Linked DNA regions of Homo sapiens: regions 2, 3 and 4 are each linked to region 1. Evidence: promoter capture Hi-C in 16 types of primary human blood cells and fetal thymus (Javierre and others, 2016). All regions are on one chromosome and are shown on one strand. The core of a region is centred on a gene start or on the middle of the fragment in contact, and the rest is flanking DNA. Distances in the headings are between cores, read along the strand shown. Region 1 holds the start of ZFR (zinc finger RNA binding protein). Region 2 overlaps ZFR (zinc finger RNA binding protein). Region 3 has its middle 53 kb from the start of ZFR. Region 4 overlaps ZFR (zinc finger RNA binding protein).

Evidence for each region. Contacts are between HindIII fragments. The CHiCAGO score rates a contact against its expected background, and 5 or more counts as called.
Region 2: a fragment that was not itself captured here is called in contact with the fragment with the promoter of ZFR in region 1 in 2 of 17 cell types (activated CD4 T cells and total B cells); the score reaches 5.4 in activated CD4 T cells.
Region 3: a contact is called between a fragment that was not itself captured here and the fragment with the promoter of ZFR in region 1, in 3 of 17 cell types (activated CD4 T cells, total B cells and naive B cells). The highest score is 6.4, in activated CD4 T cells.
Region 4: a contact is called between a fragment that was not itself captured here and the fragment with the promoter of ZFR in region 1, in 9 of 17 cell types (total B cells, activated CD4 T cells, naive B cells and 6 more). The highest score is 9.2, in total B cells.

The regions. Positions count from the first base shown.
Region 1 is chr5:32,443,144-32,446,280 of GRCh38, forward strand. ZFR (zinc finger RNA binding protein) reads right to left here and starts at 1,597. Exons shown (of 20, transcript NM_016107.5): 1 at 1,479-1,597; 2 at 1,086-1,185. The coding sequence starts at 1,515. RefSeq lists silencers at 640-979, 1,210-1,899 and an enhancer at 691-1,248. The HindIII fragment of the contact is 7,512 bases long and covers 1-3,137 here.
Region 2 is chr5:32,380,078-32,383,214 of GRCh38, forward strand. It overlaps ZFR (zinc finger RNA binding protein), which reads right to left. Exons shown (of 20, transcript NM_016107.5): 16 at 1-95. Among named protein-coding and RNA genes, the nearest start is that of MIR579, 13 kb to the right of the region's middle. The HindIII fragment of the contact is 3,735 bases long and covers 1-3,137 here.
Region 3 is chr5:32,495,985-32,499,121 of GRCh38, forward strand. No RefSeq gene overlaps it. Among named protein-coding and RNA genes, the nearest start is that of ZFR, 53 kb to the left of the region's middle. The HindIII fragment of the contact is 655 bases long and covers 1,201-1,855 here.
Region 4 is chr5:32,406,184-32,409,320 of GRCh38, forward strand. ZFR (zinc finger RNA binding protein) reads right to left here. Exons shown (of 20, transcript NM_016107.5): 6 at 591-838. Among named protein-coding and RNA genes, the nearest start is that of MIR579, 13 kb to the left of the region's middle. The HindIII fragment of the contact is 974 bases long and covers 987-1,960 here.

The DNA.
Region 1 (3,137 bases), core at 347-2,846:
TCAAATGAAAAAAACTGCCTGGGTTTAACCAACATCTAACATACATAAAAAGCATATCACGCAGGAGCCGTGTGCGCTTATGGCCTGAATCAAAAGTCTCAGATTGACTCAAAAGTAACAATTTAACAATCCACTGTTGTGTTTGTCTTTGGTAAGATGTATAATGAACTACAGACTTCAGAAATGAGAGCTTCCCTTAAAGCAGGGATTTCATCCGGTGCATTACAATGACTCAGTACAATCTCACTTGCATCTTCTTCCCTCCCCACCATTCCCCGCAGGGGAAAGACCCCCGCAAGGAGAATGACAGGCCCACCTGGGGCCTAAACTCCATAGCTCAAACAAGGCTGGGCACTCATTTATCAGCACTAGAAACTTCGCACATCTTTTCCAGTCTAAGAACTACACAATTTACAGGTGGTTGGTATGTGAATCTCTCTCCTTGCAGGAAAAACTAAAGGAACCCGATGAACACAGTGACACCCGCAGTTTGTCAGCAGGACTCGCTAGCGATGGAGCGTCTGGGGAAGAAGCCCCACGGCGGAGGAAAAGGTACCCGAGACAACGACACGTTATCTGGGCTCCGGGGGTTGAAGCACCAGGCGACGACGCAGAGAGGCGTCGCACGAGAAGCCAGTGGACCTGCGACACGGCACTCCCCGTGAGGTCCCTTCAGCCACCCTCTCCATCCCCCAAGTGGGAAGAAGATGGGAGGTGGGGGCTGGACGCGCGGAGGCGGGGACTGGGGGGCCTGCCGGGCGGCGGTGGCGGCTCCGCTCGGCGGCCGCAGGAGGCCATTTTAGTTAAGGGGCCGCTGAAGGGCCCTGAGGCCTCCACGTCCCTACACCTCCGCCGTCTCTACCTCCCCCCTACTGGGGGCCGCTCCCCGCCGCGGGCCGGGCCGGGCCGGGCAAGGCGGGGCGGGGCGGGGCGGGGCGGGAGAGGCCGCCGGGCTGGGCCGGGCCAGGCCTGCAGCGGGCCGGGGCTCTGGGATGGCTGGGGACGGGCGCGGGGGCGTCGCATCGACAGGATCCGGACCGAGGGGAGAGCAAGGGGCGAACAGAGAGAAGGCAGGATGCCGTTACCTATATTGGGCCGCAGCCGCCGCCGCCGCCGCCCCGCTGTGGGTGAATCCAAAGTAGTTGCCGGTCGCCATTTTGGCATCTTCCCCCAGCCGGCTGGGCACTGCGGCGGGCACGAAGAGTCGGGTCCCATGGCGGGACAAGAGACACAGAGGAGCCGAGACGCCGAGGGAGGGCAGGGAGAGAAAGAGAGAGGCGCCGTGAGAGCAGCCCTGGCGGGGCCCAGGCCGCGGCCGCGCCGCCTCCCCCTCCCGCCTCGCACTCCCTCACTCACTCGCACGCCCGGGTGGCGGCCGCCGCCTCCTCCCCGGAGCCTGCCCCAACCCCCGCGGCTCCCCGCTGCCCGGGGCCAGGGAGGGGGCCGGGCAGAGGCCTCGCGGGCCACATTAGACTCACCATAGGTGAAAGAAACTACAGGGCATATGGGAATCATGGGCTCGGGCTGCTGCTGCTGAACTCTGAACTCTCACCCGCTGCCTCCCTCCTCTGCCCCGCTCCTCCTCAGCGGAGAACAGACCGCCGCCTCCGACCGCACTGCGCAGGCGCGCCTGTGCTCGGCATCCTGGGAGCTGTAGTCCCCGCCGTCTTCGCGGCTCCCCCGGGCGCGTGCCGGGGCCTCGGCGGTGCGGGCGCGGGGAAGCCCGCGGGGGAAGAGGGGCCTGGCCTTCTCCGAAGTGGTGGTGACGCCGCGCGGCCGCGGGGCGACGGGGGCGTGTGCCAGAAGCGCCTCGCCTGTCCTCTGGGGAGTCGGGGAGCGTGACCAGAGAGAGTGACGTCTGTTCGCCTTTTTCTTTGCTTTCCACTGGCTTCCTTAACTTTTGCATGTGCACTTATTCCCTGCCTCCCTGTCTTCCTCGCTCATTAATTTTTCATTGGAATTCGAGCTGGGCAATTTAGGATTTTTCCTTATTTCCTGCTTTCCCGCAGCTTTTCCCCAACCTCTGAAGTGCGGAGGGAGGGAGAAGGAGAGGAGAGAAATAGAAAAAGGATGGAGAGTGCTTTTCTGTTGGACTAAAAGCACACCCTAAACATCCCTCCCGGACATACCTCTTGCTATACCCTTTCCTCGACCTGCACCCACTCCCTGAGCCATCCGGCGTATATCGGTCACCCAGCAGGGTGTCAGGCAGTGTTGTAGGTGCTGGAGATACGGCAGAGAACAAAACAAAGTCCCTGTTCCCGTGGAGTTTACGTTCTAGGAGCGGGTATATGTCAGCCAACAGCCGGTAGCCAAAACACAGAAATTCTGTCTGATGGTGACTGGAGCTTCAAGCATAAATAAAGCAGAGTAAGGAAAATAAGGGTAAGGGAGGTGCTATTTCATGTAGAGTGTGGTTAGGGAGACCACTTGAAGGAAGGAAGGACAGGCCTGGGAGATGCCTGCAGGAAGAGCAGCAAGTGGAAGGGTCCAGATGAAGGAATGAATGTTCAAGAGCAAGAAGATCAGTCTGGCTGGAGTCAAGTGAGAGGGAGACCAGATCACGTGCCAGATCTTTAGTGGTAAGGACAGAACAGTACTTGCCCCCATGTAAGCATTTCCTCTTTCCCTCTGTTTCCTCGCTTTCTTCCCTTTAGTTTCTCAGTTCGTTTTCAACCATTCTCTTTCCTCTTCCAGTCCCTCTTCTGATCGTCTAGTTTCTCTGGCCTTATGTTTCGTGTCTTCCATCAAGTACATATGTACTGCCTGCATTTCACCTCTTCCTTACCTTCTCCATGCCCATCCCCCAGACTCCCTGCTCCTCATCTCTCCTCATTGTTGGATATGAACATTAAAAGGAAATGCTGGCCGGGCGCGGTGGCTCACGCCTGTAATCCCAACACTTTGGGCGGCCGAGGCGGGTGGATCACGAGGTGAGGTCAGTGGCCAACATGGTGAAACCCCGTCTCAAAAAAAAAGAAAAAAAAAAAAAGCCGGGCGTGGTGGCGGGCGCCTGTAGTCCCAGCCACTCAGAAGGCTGAGGCAGGAGAATCGCTTGAACCCTGGAAGCAGAGGTTGCAGTGAGCCGAGATCGCGCCCCTGGACTCCAGCCTGAGCGACAGAGCGAGACTCCGTCT
Region 2 (3,137 bases), core at 251-2,750, 63 kb before region 1:
GAACCACTTAGCGTGGCGTAGAGCAGCCAGAGCGTCAAGGCATTTTTGCCTGTCCAAGACGTCCGGTGGGTCTTTCACCATACCCGAGGTTACATCTAAAATGGATTGAATTGGCAAAATGCAGTGAGGAATGGGTGTTTGACCAGGTGAGCAAGACACTTCCTTAAGGTAGCATCAGTGTCACATGAGCCATTTGAGAGCTTGTTGGCACTTTAATATATCCACGGAGTTATTTTCAATAAATTTACATAATCCAATATGAGGAACAAAAGGTTAACTTATTAATTTAGTAATATAATAAACAATTTCTGGAAATATAAACCCTACCCACCAAAACGAAATCCGAAGGAAAGATTACTGGACACAGTGCACTAGCACAAAGACAACAAGACAAGAGGGAACACAAAAATCCACCTTAATGAGTATGTACAATAAACTACTGAGTTTGTTCAGTACTCTAAATGGTCGTAAGTTATTCTGGAGCTAATATAACAAAGAACTGATGATAAATATAGAATGCTCAATATAGTTACAGTTATAGGAAAAAAATGAAGAACCCAAAACAGGCATTTCTTTTTTTTTTTTTTTTTTTTTTGAGACGGAGTGTCACTCTGTCCCCCAGGCTGGAGTGCACGATCTCAGATCACTGCAACCTCGGCCTCCTGGGTTCAAGCGATTCTCCTGTCTCAGCCTCCCAAGTAGCTGGGATTACAGGTGTGCACCACCACACCAGGCTAATTTTTTGTATTTTTAGTAGAGACGAAGTTTCACCATGTTGGCCAGGCTGGTTTTTAACTCCTGACCTCAAGTGATACACCCGCCTCGGCCTCCCAAAGTGCTAGGATTACAGGCGTGAGCCACTGCGCCCGGCCCAAAACAGGCATTTCTAAAAGTTTAATGCTCTCCCTTCCGCATGAAAATTTTAGTTATCAGAGAGTATGAAATGCCCTTTAAAATTTAAAGTTCCCATAAAGTATTTCAAAAAATGATAAAAGAGAAACAATAGGCAAGCAGAACAGCGAATAGGAACTAGTATGGTTAAACAGAATTAAGAGTGGAAAAGATGCTGATCCTGTGACGATAGATGTGTAGGGTCTTTAAGCTGATTAAAACATAAATGAGCTACACAAAACTTGAGAATATATGAAACTAAACCAGGACAAGAAGTTAACTTTACATTAATATATCATTCATAAAAGTAGACAAAGGGCTATCTTTATATCCATCTAAACATCTGTAAAATGTGTATATTAACAGCAAATCTGCTAATCAAGCTATTAGTAAGCAAATGGCAATTATTCCAATCTAATTCACAGCTCTCAGTGATTTAAATAGTATGAATATTTTCTCAATATAGAAAAATTATATAATCTATTAAATATAATAGTCCTTTGGAAATTATGGGGCATTTAGAATACAGTTTAATAATCGAATATATAAAATGAATATGGACGAAAAAATACATGATAAAAGTATGAAAAAGTTAATTATCTTAAGAGTACTAGCTGCAGTTCTGGTCAAGTTACTCATATCTCATAAGCATTCAGATATCTTAAAGGATAACTTGTTCTTATTTTGAGTAGATGACATATAAAAAACATATTTTGAAACTGATAGAGAATTCTATTCTCTAAGGTTTCTTTTTCTTAGTTTTTTACTCCTCGAGTAATCAGATGGACACAGATTCTTCAGAAGACACATTTAGAGGAAAGACAGATAATCAAGGAAAACTGTGTGACATTTTGAGAATAAATACTAAAAGAGGAATTTGGTGCTAAAAAGAAGTTATCAAGACAAAAATATTAGTTCTCTCAAAACTTATAAGACCAACTATTGAACCTAGAAATAACCTGAACATAAGAAATGAACTATTCTGTCAGGAATAGATAAAGAAAAGGGACACAAGAGACAGCTAACTATGAAGTTTTAAAAAAGAAAAAAGGGCCAGGTGCAGTGGCTCATGCCTGTAATCCTAGCACTTTGGGAGGCTGAGGCAGGTGGATCATCTGAGGTAGGGAGTTCGAGACCAGCCCGGCCAACATGGTGAAACTCCATTCCTACTCAAAAATACAAAAATTAGCTGGGTGTCGTGGCACATGCCTGTGGTCCCAGCTCCTCAGCTACTTGGGAGGCTGAGGCATGAGAATTGCTTGAACCTGGGAGGTGGAGGTTGCAGTGAGCCGAGATTGTGCTGCTGCACTCCAGCCTGGGTGACAGAGTGACTGTCTCAAAAACAAAGCAAAACAAAACCAAACCCCTCACACACACAAAAAAGAAAAAGCTGACTTCCCCAAAGCAGTATTATAACATGCTAAAGAACCTCTTTCTATGTCCCTTATTTACTTACATTTGCTAAAGCTAGAATGCAAATAGGTGACAATGTGCAATCTCTAAAATGTTTCTAAATTTCTAATGTTAATTCACAATTTTATTTCCTCCGATATGCAAGAAAATTTTGTTTTGCACATAAGCATTCATAACTTTGGAAATTGTAATTCATGATATAAATTCAAAGATGCCAAGACACCTATTGCAATTTTTTTTTCTTTGAGATGGAGTTTCACTCTTGTCGCCCAGGCCAGAGTGCAATGGCATGATCTCGGCTCACTGCAACCTACACCTTCTGGGTTCAAGCAATTCTCCTGCCTCAGCCTCCCAAGTAGCTGGGATTATAGGCACTCACCACCACGCCCAGCTAATACCTATTGCAATTTAAAAACAAATTACAGCTATAAGTAGAAAATTTTTGTTAAATTTAGTGTGGATTTTTGTACCCATTTTCTATTTCAAGTAGATTAACCCCTTATATTCTGCTAAAATCATACTTGTTGCCTAACACCCAGTTAACAAAGCAAAAAAAAATCAGTTAATTTATAAAAACAAAATGCTAATTCTTATTCTATGTGAATGTATTTCATAGATTTTAAGGGGTTAATCACCAATTAGAAGACATGCTGTGTCCACACTATTTTAAGATTAAACGTTAATGGGAATATATTAATTCAAATTAACATGGTCATGTAAAATATATAACCCACTCAACCATTTAAAAACTAGTGTGAACACTGCTCAATTCTAGAAGAGACAAAGACAAAACAAACAAAACAGCCACACAAAGGACAATAAATGCCAGGCTC
Region 3 (3,137 bases), core at 278-2,777, 53 kb after region 1:
TATTAAGAATTTCAAGATATTGACTGTAAAATGTTAACTAAGTGCAGGGCCCTTCTCTGTACAGAAATGTGCAACTGTGCAGGTCACACACCCATGAAACCTACTGGACTCCTGCTCTGGAGAATTGATAATACCTTGTAAATTGTAGGGTTCTTTGGAGGATCTGTTAGTCCCAGCTCAGTTTCCATCTTGGATCTTATGTTTCTCCCGTCGGCTTTCTTTCATAGATTTTATTCTCCCTCTGATTTCTGACACTGAAAATCCAAGATTAGAGCTCTCTCAAAAGTGCCTCAGAGCCCGTCTTCCTGTTTTTGACATGAAACAGCCACTTTCCTGGATTAACTTCATGCTAGATGAAGTCATGCAATATGGTTAGTGTGGAAGACAGGGTTTTGTTGTTGTTGTTTTAAATTTGTTAGCTGTAATGAACTCATATGCTGCTCCATAGGTCCCCGGCTGTCCTTTTTTTGTCTTCTGAGTTTTGTTCCGCCTTAGTCTAGGGGTTGAGGAAGCTGTTTAGGTCAGGCCCACAGAAATTCTGGCCATGGGCTACTGCATGGTCCAAGTGAGAAATAATGGCAACTGGGATGGGGAAGAAGCCTTGGAGATAGAAAAGGGCTGATTCAAGAGAGAGGGAAAATGTACAATCAATAGGAGTAGGTTGAATTGAATAAGAGAAACAAGGGTATCAAGGATTTCCAGCTTGAATAGAACATTGTTCCTCTTGTTCATGTGCTGGATCAATGTTTAATGAATTTCCCCCATGTACCAGGCACTGTTAGACTGTTTCAGATATTTAACCCCTTCCCCCTTCATCACTATTGTTATTATTTTTGAGACAACGTCTCACTCTGTCACCCATTCTGGAGTGCAGTGGCGCGATCTCAGCTCACTGCAACCTCTGCTTCTCGGGTTCAAGTGATTCTCCTGCCTCAGTCTCCCAAGTAGCTGGGATTACAGGCATGCACCACCATGCCCAGGCTAATTTTTTTACTTTTAGTAGAGACGGGGGTTTCACCACGTTGGCCACACTGGTCTCGAACTCCTGACCTCAAGTGACCTGCCCACCTCTGCCTCACAAAGTGCTGGGATTACAGGCATGAGCCACTGCACCCGGCCTGATCAGGTGATGGATCTTAAGACTCTCCCATGAGAGGGCTCCCACCCTATACCATGGGGGAAAGAATGTTGATGTCATGAAGCTTCTGTAAAAACCCAAGAGGACATGGATCAGTGAACTTCCGGGTAGCTGAGCTCCTGGAGGTTCCTGGAGGGTGGCGCTTAGGGAGGACATGGAAACTCTGCGCCGCTTCCCTAATATCTCACCCTGTGCATCTCTTCTCGTGTATCCTTTACTATATCCTTAATAATAAACCAGTAAATGTGTTTCCCTGAGTTCTATAAGCCGCTCCAGCAAATTTATTGAACCCATATAGGGGGGTCATGGGAACCCCAACTTGAAGCTGGTCAGTAAGAGGTTCTGGAGGGCCGACCTTGCAACTGGTGTGTGTTAGTGGGGGTTCAGGAGGCAGTCTTAGGGACTGAGTCCTCAGCTTGTGGGATCTGACACCATCTCTGGGCAGACACGGTTGGAACTGAATGAGAAGACCCTCCCTGGTGTCCGTTGCTTGGTGTGTGGGGAAAAAGCCCCATATATTTGGTCACAGAAATCTTCTGTGTTGATGATTGTTGTGGTGTGAGAGTAGAGGAAAAACATGGTTTCAGGAGAGTTTTTCCCTACACAGTTTGATACACTGAACGTCCCTAATTTTGGTGAACACCCTTAAAATTAGTGCTTTTGGGGGAAGAAGGGACTAGATTGATGAGTTTTTCAAGGAATAAAGAGAAGAAAAGAAGCTTAAGAAGCTTTTTCTTGGCCGAGCATGGTGGTCCCATGCCTGTAATCCCATCATTCTGGGAGGCAGAAGGATTCCTTGAGGCTAGGAGTTTGAGACCAGCCTAGCCAACAAAGCGAGACTGCCGCCTGCCTCCAATCTCTACAGCAAAAAAAAAAATTAGTGGGGTATGGTGGCGTGTGCCTGTAGTCCTAGCTAATTGGGAGGTTGCGGTGGGAAGAGTGCTTGAGCCCAGGAGTTTGAGGCTGCAGTGAGCTGTGATTGCATCACTGTATTCCCACCTGGGTGACATGATGAGACCCCCGTCTCAAAAACAAACAGGCTGGGCGTGGCGGCTCACACCTGTAATCTCAGCACTTTGGGAAGCCAAAGCAGGTGGATCACTTGAGGTCAGGGGTTCAAACCAGCCTGGCCAACATGGTAAAACCCCATCCCTACTAAAAATACAAAAATTAGCTGGGTGTGGTGGCACGCACCTGTATTCCTAGCTACTGGGGAGGCTGAGGCATGAGAATGTCTTGAACCTGGGAGACAGAGGTTGCAGTGAGCCGAGATTGCACCATGCACTCCAGCCAGGGCAACAGAGTGATACTCCATCTCAAACAAACAAACAACAACAACAACAAGAATCTTTTATTCATGGAACCCAATAGAAAAGGTGGAGAGACATAAAAAAAAAAATTAAATTCTACAGAGGTATCCACCTATGCCTGTGCCCAGTCTGTCATCCAGCAGTTTGGTTTCAGTGTTTAGTGATTACCTCTGTGTGTCTAAATACTATGTTTACACTGCTTGCTATTTCCTGGTTTATCATCTTTAGACATTATCTCTTGACTTCCTCTTGTGAAAGATAAGGATTTAACTTGCTCACAAAGATAAGGATTTAACTTGCTCACACTCCTGTCCCAGTAAAGCTATATCATTATTTTTAGTTCCTCTACTGGTTTCTAACATTAAGTAATGGACTGGAATCTCTCTTGTTCTAGTGATTTCAAGGAGTATCTTCTTCTCCCTTTATTGAAAGCAAAAAAAAAGCTTGCCTTTCCCTTCAACACAACTGTCCATCTTTTACTTCCCAATTTCCGACATCTGTCATTTCACTTTCACCTCGTCAGGCTGATAAACTTTACATTCTGTTCTGTATCCACAGTTGACTCCACCATGCTTTGCCTGTAGAGCTGGATTCTAAAAGGCGAACATCTCCAGGGGAGGATGGGAGTGGGGATCGAGGTTTGGGGGTTTCTCTGAGAGAGGGCCTGACCTGAAGAGGCCACCTGGACA
Region 4 (3,137 bases), core at 224-2,723, 37 kb before region 1:
ATACCGAAAAAGGAATAAGGGTTTTACATTTACATGCCTCACTAATTGGTATTTTTGAAAAAGACACTTCTTTACACCTTCCTTGTTCCCGAAGTTCCTACTCCCCTTATGAGATTACAGAAATAACTAACATACTATAAAGTATATATCAAAGTCAGTCTCATTAGAAATGCAATCCTGAAAATTATAGATTATCAGTAACCTGCTATATTAAGTTAAAGAATTTTGAATAAAGGCTTTGGCAAGTAAGTTACAGATGCTAAAAACACAACGAAATAAAAATTCAATCTTACCCAAGTCGCAATTAATTTGACTACAAAATTTTAAAACTAAATTTAAGTTTTAAAGAACAAAGTCTCTTTCCGGAAAAAAAAGCTCAATTTGCCTATTTATCATTTACAGTCACAATCATCTTTACAGTTTTTTTTTCCCTGAAAATTCTCATGCCACAATACAAGTAACTTAAAAAATGCACTGGCTAAAAGCTAACAGGAAAAAATGTAAACCTCTTTTAGTAGGCTCAGGAGTTAGAATACCAACTACACTTAATAACCACTGAAGACTCAAGGTAAAACATACAACGTAAGTACCTGTGGTCCAGCACAGCTGATCTTACAAACATCACAATAGTGAATCTGTGGTGGTTTGGGAGGCTGTTTTGGTTTCAGTTGTTTATTTTGGAATGGTGCTTTTTTAGTAAAGGTGGTCCCTGTCCAGGCAGCTGTTGCAGCAGCAGCAGCAGCTGCTGCTGCTGCCTGCTTCTGTTGCTGCTGCTGCTGTTGATAGTAGGAAGATGCAGCTGAATACACTGCTGCTTCATAACCTGAATAAGACGTACCTTACAAATAAAAATCAAACAAAAATTATGTTACATACTTATAGAAGGACAAGTTAAAATTTACAAATTTAAATTAAATTAATCCTGCCAATAAAGATAGATTTACATGTGCATATTTACAAACGTATATCTCACAGAACCAGAAAAAAGCTTATTTTCCTTCTAAGAAAGTCATCAACTAGTATTTACTCAATATATGCCAGGTGTTATAGAGGTATAAAGACAGTGTAAAATTTGGTCCCTGCCTTGAAGAACCTTATAGTTTAATTGGAGAGATGTGATAGTGTGTTTGACAAACTTGTCTGTTTATAGAATCTGCTAATATGTCCCCAAATAAAATCCTGTGAACAAAATTTAGGAAGTGTTGGATTTGAGGAAGAATCTGAAGTAGGATACTAGATAGGAAAAACAAAAACTCATGAAAGTAAGATTTGACATGCTTGGTAGCTAAGAGGACAAAAGAGATAAAAGAAGAGGAAAACATACAAATGTGACACTAAAATCTGGAGCCCCAGTGATCAACTGATGGGCTGTGCAACTGCTAGAATCAAGAAGCTGACAGATGCTAGTCTGGGGAGGCAAGGTAAATAAAGTTTAGCAGAAGTTTGTGATGTGGAACTGAAGTTCAGATGAAAATATAGAACAACTGTTAAAGATTTAGGAATTAGGGACCAATACATTGGTTCTCATCTTCCAAAAGATGAAAAAGCATTGTGTTTTCTGGTTAAATGTATGAATTCTACCCATTTCCATTGTTCAGAGACTCCAGTGAATAAGTACATTATGCAAGCTGTTTATATAATATATACATGTTGCTTATGTTCAGTGATTTACAGATTTTTAATCTGTGAACGTGGAGACGGGGTTTCGCCACGTTGCCTAGGCCAGACACAGACACAGCCTTGTATCTGTTTTCCTACAATGCTTTTTATAAGAAATGTACATTTGTTTGCCAGTAGTTATAGGAGAATTTAAGATGCCCTTTAACAGAGTTCCAGAATCTTTAGCCCACCTTTCAGTGCATGCTTTATTTTTATAACTAAGTAGTAAGTTATAACTAAACTTGCCTTTTATTAGTTTTACACTACCTATGTGCAAGTAGAGATTATTTTATGAATATTAAGCTTAACTTGGTGATTTTTATGGTTAAATTTGATCAGTGTTTAAAGGATACTGCAATTTCTAAACCTAATTTTTCTCATATTTAAGGATAGTGATACTTACCTTATAGATCTGTTCTAAAAACTACACTGTGTCTGGCATACTGCTTCCTGTATTGTGAACGTTTGATTAAAAAAAAAAAAAAAAAAAAAAAACTAGAAGAACTATTCTTTCAGCACTGTTGGCCTCTGTTGTCCTTATTCTGCTTCATATTTTCTTAATAGATAATTCATAAAGTTACATTTCTGTGGCATTTGTATAGTTTCTATATAGAAGAACTGAAGTCATTTGGAAAATATCTGTTATAAAGATATTATGTAAAAATCATGATCCTACTTGGTAATAAATCTAAAAACATCTTCATTATTGGTAACTGGACAATTTTATGGCATTTCTCTACAGTAAAATTTAAACTATACATGTTTTTGCCTGTAAGCTTGAAAACATTTGGCTGTGAGCTTGTGTTCTTTTATCACATTCGTAAGTAATAGAGGACGTTTGTAGGACTGCCCAGTAGAGTTTATTAGTTTATAGAAATTTTGTTTTAAGCAATTATCTCAACTGTTTTCTCAATTTTATCTGATCATATACATGCTTTATCACTGATATACAGCTACCTGTTTCTATTTTCATTTCAGATGTTTTCTTGTCTATTATCACACTTTCTATCTTAAAACTTTATATACTATAGTAGCCTAACATAAAAGTCTAAGAAGGCTTTTCTCAAAAGTTGCCTGACTACTTTTCTCCTGGATATGTCTGGTTTTCCACGCATTTTAGCTCTCACCATTCCAATTTATTTTTCCTTCCCTATGTGTACAGACATATTGGAGTTAGGGGGTCCTAAGTCTTTCAGTATTGCAGTCTGCATTTGAGAGACCAAAAAGTTTAATTCTCTGTAAGCAGTTCTTCTGTGCTTTTCTGTCAACTAGGAATCTCTCTCAAGCTTTATATCACTCTTTGCCCATCCATTACCACTTACAGGAATAAGGAAATTTAACTGAAATATGGTGAATAGGCAGTCTACCAAATTTCCAGAGATCTTAGTCTAGAAATGGTCAGTTTACCAGTTTTCAGGTAGGCTTATAAGTAAAATCCACAGCTTTCAAATTTAAAACGTTCTCTTAAATACATTAAA